2 separate regions of the Homo sapiens genome follow, and region 1 is linked to region 2. Evidence: promoter capture Hi-C in human tissues and cell types (Jung and others, 2019). All regions are on one chromosome and are shown on one strand. Each heading gives the region's core, a stretch centred on a gene start or on the middle of the fragment in contact. The rest is flanking DNA. Distances are from core to core; before and after follow the strand shown.

Region 1 (3,276 bases), core at 502-3,001, 620 kb after region 2:
GATATGGAATGTAGTTTTTTTTTTTTTTTTTTTTTTTTTTTTTTAGACGGAGTCTCCCTCTGTTGCCCAGGCTGGAGTGCAGTGGCGCGATCTCAGCTCACTGCAAGCTCCACCTCCCGGGTTCACACCATTCTCCTGCCTCAGCCTCCCGAGTAGCTGGGACTACAGGCGCACACCTGGCTAATTTTTTTTATATTTTTAGTAGAGACGACAGGGTTTCACCGTGTTAGCTAGGATGGTCTCGATCTCCAGACCTTGTGATCCGCCCGCCTCGGCCTCCCAGAGTGCTGGGATTACAGGTGTGAGCCACCCCGCCCGGCTGTAGTTTTTCATATTATTTGTATAATAGGTTAGGTTCCAGATTTTTTTTTTTCTTTTTGAGACAGAGTCTCACTCCGGCTGTTGCCCTGTCTGCAGTGCAGTGACGCAGTCACAGCTTACTGCAGCTTCGACTTCCCAGGCTCAGGTGATCCTCCCACCTCAGCCTCCCAAGTAGTTGGGACTATAGGCATGCACCATCACACCTAGCAAATTTTTTTGTATTTTTAGTAGATACAGGGTTTCATCATGTTGCCCAGGCTGGTCTCGAACTCCTGGGCTCAAGTGGTCTACCTGACTTGGCCTCCCAAAGTGCTGGCATTACAGGTGTGAGCCACTGTACCTGGCCTAGGTTCTAGATTTTTGAATTCAGTTATATTATGGGTTAACTATGTACATAGGAGCTGCCCTGGAACTCTACTCTGTATTTGTAACATTGTTTCTATCAGAAGTTTAATTTTGAGCTCATACCAGCCAATTTGAAAACACAGCTTTTTTTTTGCTTTTTTTTTTTTGAGATGGAGTCTCGCACTGTCGCCTGGGCTGGAGTGCAGTGGCACGATCTTGGCTTACTGCAGCTTCCGTCTTCCAGGTTCAAGCTGTTCTCCTGCCTCAGCCTCCCGAGTAGCTGGGATTACAGGCGCCCACCACCATGCCCAGCTAATTTTTTGTATTTTTAGTAGAGACAGGGTTTCACTTTGTTGGCCAGGCTGGTCTCGAATGCCTGACTTCATGATCCACCTGCCTCGGCCTGTCAAACTGCTGGGATTACAGGCGTGAGCCACTGTGCCTGGCCTTTTTTTTTTTTTTTTTCTCGCTTTGTCACCCAGACTGGAGTGCAGTGGCGCGATCTAGGCTCACTGCAGCCTCCACCTCCCGGGTGCAAGCGATTCTTCTGCCTCAGCCTCCCAAGTAGCTGGGACTACAGGAGCCCACCACCACGCCTGGTTAATTTTTGTATTTTTAGTGGAGACAGGGTTTCACCATATTGACCAGGCAGTTCTCGAACTCCTGACCTCGTGATCCACCCACCTCGACCTCCCAAAGTGCTGGGATTACAGGTATGAACCACCATGCCCTGCCATAAACTTACAGCTTTTACAGGTTAATTTTATCTTAAGGTTTTGTTCAGCCAGGGGTTCAGCTGAAAAATTACCCATTCCAATGGACCATTCAGACAAAAGGCAGAAGTAAAAAACAAACCTGGCTGGGTGCGGTGGCTCACGCCTGTAATCCCAGCACTTTGGGAGGCCAAGACAGGCAGATCACTTGAGGTCAGGTGTTCGAAACCGCCCTGGCCAACATGGCAAAACCCCGTCTCTACTAAAAATAGAAAACAAGTAGCCGGGTGTGGTGGCATGCGCCTGTAATCCCAGCTACTTGGGAGGCCAAGGCAGGAGAACTGCTTAAACCTGGGAGGTAGAGGTTGCAGTGAGCTGAGATAGAACCACTGCACTCCAGCCTGGGTGACAGAGCAAGGCTCTATCTCAAACAATCAAACAAACAAACAAACAAAAAACCTTAGAGAAAAATGGGAAATTGCTGGCTCAGAAGAGGGAACAGGCAAAAAAAAAAAAGAGAGAAAGAGAAAGGGAAATTGGAATCTTGGGGAACTTTTTTTTTTTTTTTTTTTGAGACGGAGTCTCAGTCTGTTGCCCAGGCTGGAGTGCAGTGGTGTGATCTCAGCTCACTGCAACCTCTGCTCTCGGATTCAAGTGATTCTCCTGCCTCAGCCTCCCAAGTTGCTGGAATTACAGGTGCCTGCCACTATGCCCAGCTAATTTTTGTATTTTTAGTAGAGACAGAGTTTCACCATGTTGGCCAGGCTGGTCTCGAACTCCAGACCTCGTGAGCCACTGCACCCAGCCTGGTAACTTTTTAATCAGTTAAAATGTTTTGTTGGTTATAAATATATTATTTTCACATTGCAAGTTATTTATATTGAAATTATGTGGAAATTTTTACTTAAAACACTTCTGCTGTCTTCTCCCCTTATACTTTTTCTTTCATAAAATGGAAATAACAGACACTACTTTATGTGGTTGAGAAGGTTAAGTGAAATAACATGAGAAAGCATTTATCACAGTGCCTTGCACATAGGAACCTTTTCATGTTCAGGTAAATATAGTATTTTAGAACTTTTTTGGAAAAGAATAGATTGAGAATTGGTTTTCTTTTTTTATTTTTCCAGCAACTGGTATTTATTATCAAAGTTATGTTTGATGTCAGCAAGTTGCCACAACTACAAAAAAATTTGCATATTACAATCTCAATGCAAACGTTCAAATAGAACCCCAGTCCTTAAAAAGTAAAAAAGTAATTCAGATTTCATCAAAAAGCAACAGAATTTTTAAAACATCTTTATATATCCAGCCAACAAGTTAAAATAGTTAACAAGAAAAAAATACAAAATATTGATGTTTAAAAAAGGCATATTTCTATCGATTTGCCCATCAATCTCTTGGCCACTCGGCTTCGTGCCAGTCATCATCTGACAGGCTCTCAGCCACCTCTGGCAACTCAAGCTTAACCAAACCACATCCCTTGGACTTCACATTCTTCATCTTGATGTTGGGTTATAGCACATGGCCGTATTTGTCAATTTGATCATGTAAAATCAAATGGGAGATTTCTCACAAATACCTGGTAGGCTTTCCTGGCCACCGCCAGGAGCATGGCCTCCAGCCTCACCAAAGGACCCTGCCAAACTTCCTCCAGAGTTTAAGTGGGCGCAGTCAAAGCTGACATGGCCACCACCATCCATGGCTAGGCCCATACACCCAGTCTCAGCACCCAGTGTCTGGCCCATGACGGGACCCATGCACTCAAGGCTGTTAATGCCCATCCTCTCCAGACTGTTGGCACCCGTCCACCCCAGTTCCATCCGGATGTTCCAGGTTGTTGGCACCTATGTGCTCCAGGCCAGTGGCCATGTGATCCATCATGGGGCTCATGTGC
Region 2 (3,591 bases), core at 708-3,207:
ATAGCTCATTGCATCTTTGAACTTTCGAGCATAAGTGATCCTCCTGCTTTGGCTTCCCCCAAGTAGCAGGAGCACATCACTACATCCCGCTAATTTTTAATTATTATTATTATTATTATTTTTGAGACGAAGTCTTGCTCTTGTCCCCCAGGCTGGAGTGCAATGGTGCGATCTCGGCTCACTGCAACCTCTGCCCCCTGAGTTCAAGTGATTCTCCTGCCTCAGCCTACCGAGTAGCTGGGATTACAGGCGCCTGCCACCACACCTGGCTAATTTTTGTATTTTTAGTAGAGACGGTTTCACCACGTTGGCCAGGTTGGTCTCGAACTCTTGACCTCAGGTGATCCACCAGCCTCAGCCTCCCAAAGTGCTGGGATTACAGGCGTGAGCCACCGCGCCGGGCCCTAATTTTTATTTTTGCAGAGATTGGCGGGGGTGGGGGGTGGTCTCGCTATGTTGCCCAAGCTGGTCTTGAACTCCTGGCCTCAAGCGATCCTCCTGCCTCAGCCTCCCGAAGTGCTGAGATTACAGGTGTAAGCCACTGTGCTCCACAAATTCTTATGTTCTTATAACTTACTTTGGGGAGCAATTGGCAACAGGTACTAAATAAAGCTAGTATTGGCTAGAGAATGACAATTGCAGAACTTTCTTTTTTTTTTTTTGAGAGAGTGTCTCACACTGTGGCCCAGGCTGGAGTGCAATGGTGCGATCTCTGCTCACTGCGACCTCCACCTCCCGGGTTCAAGCAATTCTCCTGCCTCAGATTCCCAAGTAGCTGGGATTACAGGTACCCACCACCATGCATGGCTAATTTTTTGTATTTTTAGTAGAGACGGGGTTTCGCCATGATCGCCAGGCTGTCTTGAACTCCTGACCTCAGGTGTTCAGCCCGCCTCAGCCTCCCAAAGTGCTGGGTTTATGGGCATAAGACACCGTGCCTGGCCGCAGCACTTTTTTGAACAAGGGGACAACCACCTGCCTCTCAGTAGGGAATAAAGTGTGGATTACAGTTTATTTTATACAATGGAATTCATAAGCTGTTAAGATGAATGAATTAGATGTATAGGGATCCAAAGATAATTCTCAAAAGCCATGTTGAGACTAGATACGGCGGCATCTACTCGGGAGGCTGAGGCAGGAGGACAGCCTGAGCCCCAGGAATTCGAGTCCAGCCTGGGCAGCATAAGCAGACTTCTATGGACAGCAAAAGAGGGACTGTATCCCGCACAATGCCCTGCCAACAGGCATTCTCTATCTATCTATCTAGTCTGATATTATATACATATTCTGATATATACTTAAGTTCCTAATTATTAGATTAATAATATACTTAAGTTCCTAAGTAATTACACTAATAATACATAAATTCTTGTAATTATATGTAATTAGTGATATTATATTCTAATCATAATATATATTAGACTAATACATATATTCTAGCATATATATATTAGACATATATATTCTGATATATACTTAAGTTCCTAATGTTTTTATATGTGTAATATATATTATATATATGTAACATTAGTCTAAGGAATTTGTGGAGGCTAACAGAAGAGAGGTGCTTGCTGAATACGAGAGCAGGCCACAGGAACAAGATCGGATGCAAGTGGGTGGGGGTGGAAAGATCGAAGAATCTGGCAGCCAGATCTCAAGAGCTGGCGGGGTTGGAGTGGTCTGTCCGGGAGAGGTCTGGAGGTTGCTGGGGCCGGAAGGGGTTAAAATTCGACTGGGAAGAGGGTGTTAGCACCGTACCTTTCTCATTGCGAACTGGGACGGCCCCAGCCGTAGACTGAATGGGCGGTTGCTTCATGAGAGCGCTTGGGACCGACATGTTGATGGCAGCGACGGTGATTCCCGAAACTTGACTAATTCCAAACAGTGAACACCAGCAACGTCAACGAAGAGAAGAAATTCCTTCCACCTGAGTCCGCGAACACAGCTGCGCGACTGATAGAGAAACTACTTACGGCTGAGCTAGATAAACCGGAAATACGTGACGAGAGGATTGTGGGATGGTGGACGACGTTTGGGCGCCCACAGCTAGGAAGTCGAGTCGGTTTCTGCGCATGCTCATTGGCTGCCCGCATGTCCTCTACGTCGCAGAATTTGGAAGCAGCTTTTGGCGGGAAATTTTGCTTCCTTTGGGCTTTGCTGTTAGGACTCTGCGGTGAGGAAGGTTCGAATGAAAGATTTTACGTGTTAGCTTGGTTTGAAGCCAAGAACGGTATAGTGAATAAGAAACTCAGGCGACAGTGAGTTACTGTTTGAATGGCTTGTTGAAAGCTCAGAAGAAGTAGAGTTTGATGGAATAAAAATCTTGCCAGTAGTATCCGATTAGCTTAGTTCATAAGGCCAGGGTGGGCTGTGGTGCGGTATTTGGTTTCACAGGGCAGGTGGTGCTGATTTAGGCCAGTGACCGAAAAAAAAAAAAAAAAAACTCCCGAGGTGCCTGGGACATTGCCCACCTGAAATCCCAAAACTCCACTTTTTTAGGCTTTCAGGTTTTTCCAGTTTCTGGAAACTACCTATTAAAATACATTCCTGGCTAGAAAATGTTTGTATTTAAATATCTAAGTAATTATTATTCTTTTGAGACTGTCTTTTTCTGTCACCCAGGCTGGAGTGCAGTGGCTCGATCTCAGCTCACTGCAGTCTCCACCTCCCGGGTTTAAGCAATTCTCGTGCCTCAGCCTTCTGATTAGCTGGGATTACAGGCGCCTGCCACCACTCCCTGCTGATTTTTGTATTTTTAGTAGAGACGAGGTTTCACCATGTTGGCCAGGCTTAAGTGATCCGCCCACTCCGGCCTCCCACAGTGCTGAGTGTTGGCGTGGGCCACCACTCCCGGCTAATTTTTGTATTTTTAGTAGAGGCAGGGTTTCGCCATGTTGCCCAGGCTGGTCTTGAACTCCTGACCTCAGATGATCCACCTACCTCGGCCTCCCCAAAGTGCTGGGATTACAGAGGTGAGCCACCGCACCCGGCCTATTTAAGAACTCTTTAAGGACTTACAGGATAATAACAGAAGCAGCTCCAATTTACAAGCTGAGTCGTGTTAAAAAATATATATAATATTGGCTAATTGGAAAGTCAGGACACATTTCACAGTAGAAAGGACTTTATAACTGCGGGGGAGACAAGGGACAGTAGGAACAAAGTCTTAAAGTCCAGAAACAGTATGTTTTATACAGGACACCATGAAAAGTTTGGTTTTATCAGTAATTTTTGAGTCATGAGGGGCCTTGAAGTTGCTATTAATATGATTAACCCAAATTACTTCACCTGTGTTCTACAATTGGGCCTTGAGTGGGAGAAGAAATGAAACTGGACAAATCTCAGGCAAGGAACAGTGTGGGACCCAACTAAGCAACCAAGGAAACAGTTTTGGGCTAGAAGGAACCTTAAAGAGAATAGCCAGAATCTTATTTTATTATTTATAGAAGAGGGTCTTGCTCTGTCGCTCAGGCTGGAGTTCCGCGCAATCACGGCTCACTGTGGCCTCATCCTTCTAGGTTCAAGCCATTTTCCCACCCCTGCCTTCTGAGTAGCTGGGACTACAGACGTACAACACCACGCTGGGCTAAT

The links. Contacts are between HindIII fragments. The study calls those that stand out against the background at their distance.
Region 1: a contact is called between a fragment that was not itself captured here and the fragment with the promoter of MFAP1 in region 2, in 1 of the 25 tissues and cell types used here (lymphoblastoid cells).

What each region holds. Positions count from the first base shown.
Region 1 is chr15:44,444,823-44,448,098 of GRCh38, forward strand. The region is part of intron 1 of CTDSPL2 (CTD small phosphatase like 2); the gene reads left to right. It also overlaps the pseudogene HNRNPMP1. Among named protein-coding and RNA genes, the nearest start is that of CTDSPL2, 19 kb to the left of the region's middle. The HindIII fragment of the contact is 6,367 bases long and covers 1-3,276 here.
Region 2 is chr15:43,822,733-43,826,323 of GRCh38, forward strand. It overlaps MFAP1 (microfibril associated protein 1), which reads right to left and starts at 1,958. Exons shown (of 9, transcript NM_005926.3): 1 at 1,759-1,958. The coding sequence starts at 1,837. RefSeq lists enhancers at 1,762-2,021, 1,774-2,405. The HindIII fragment of the contact is 35,410 bases long and covers 1-3,591 here.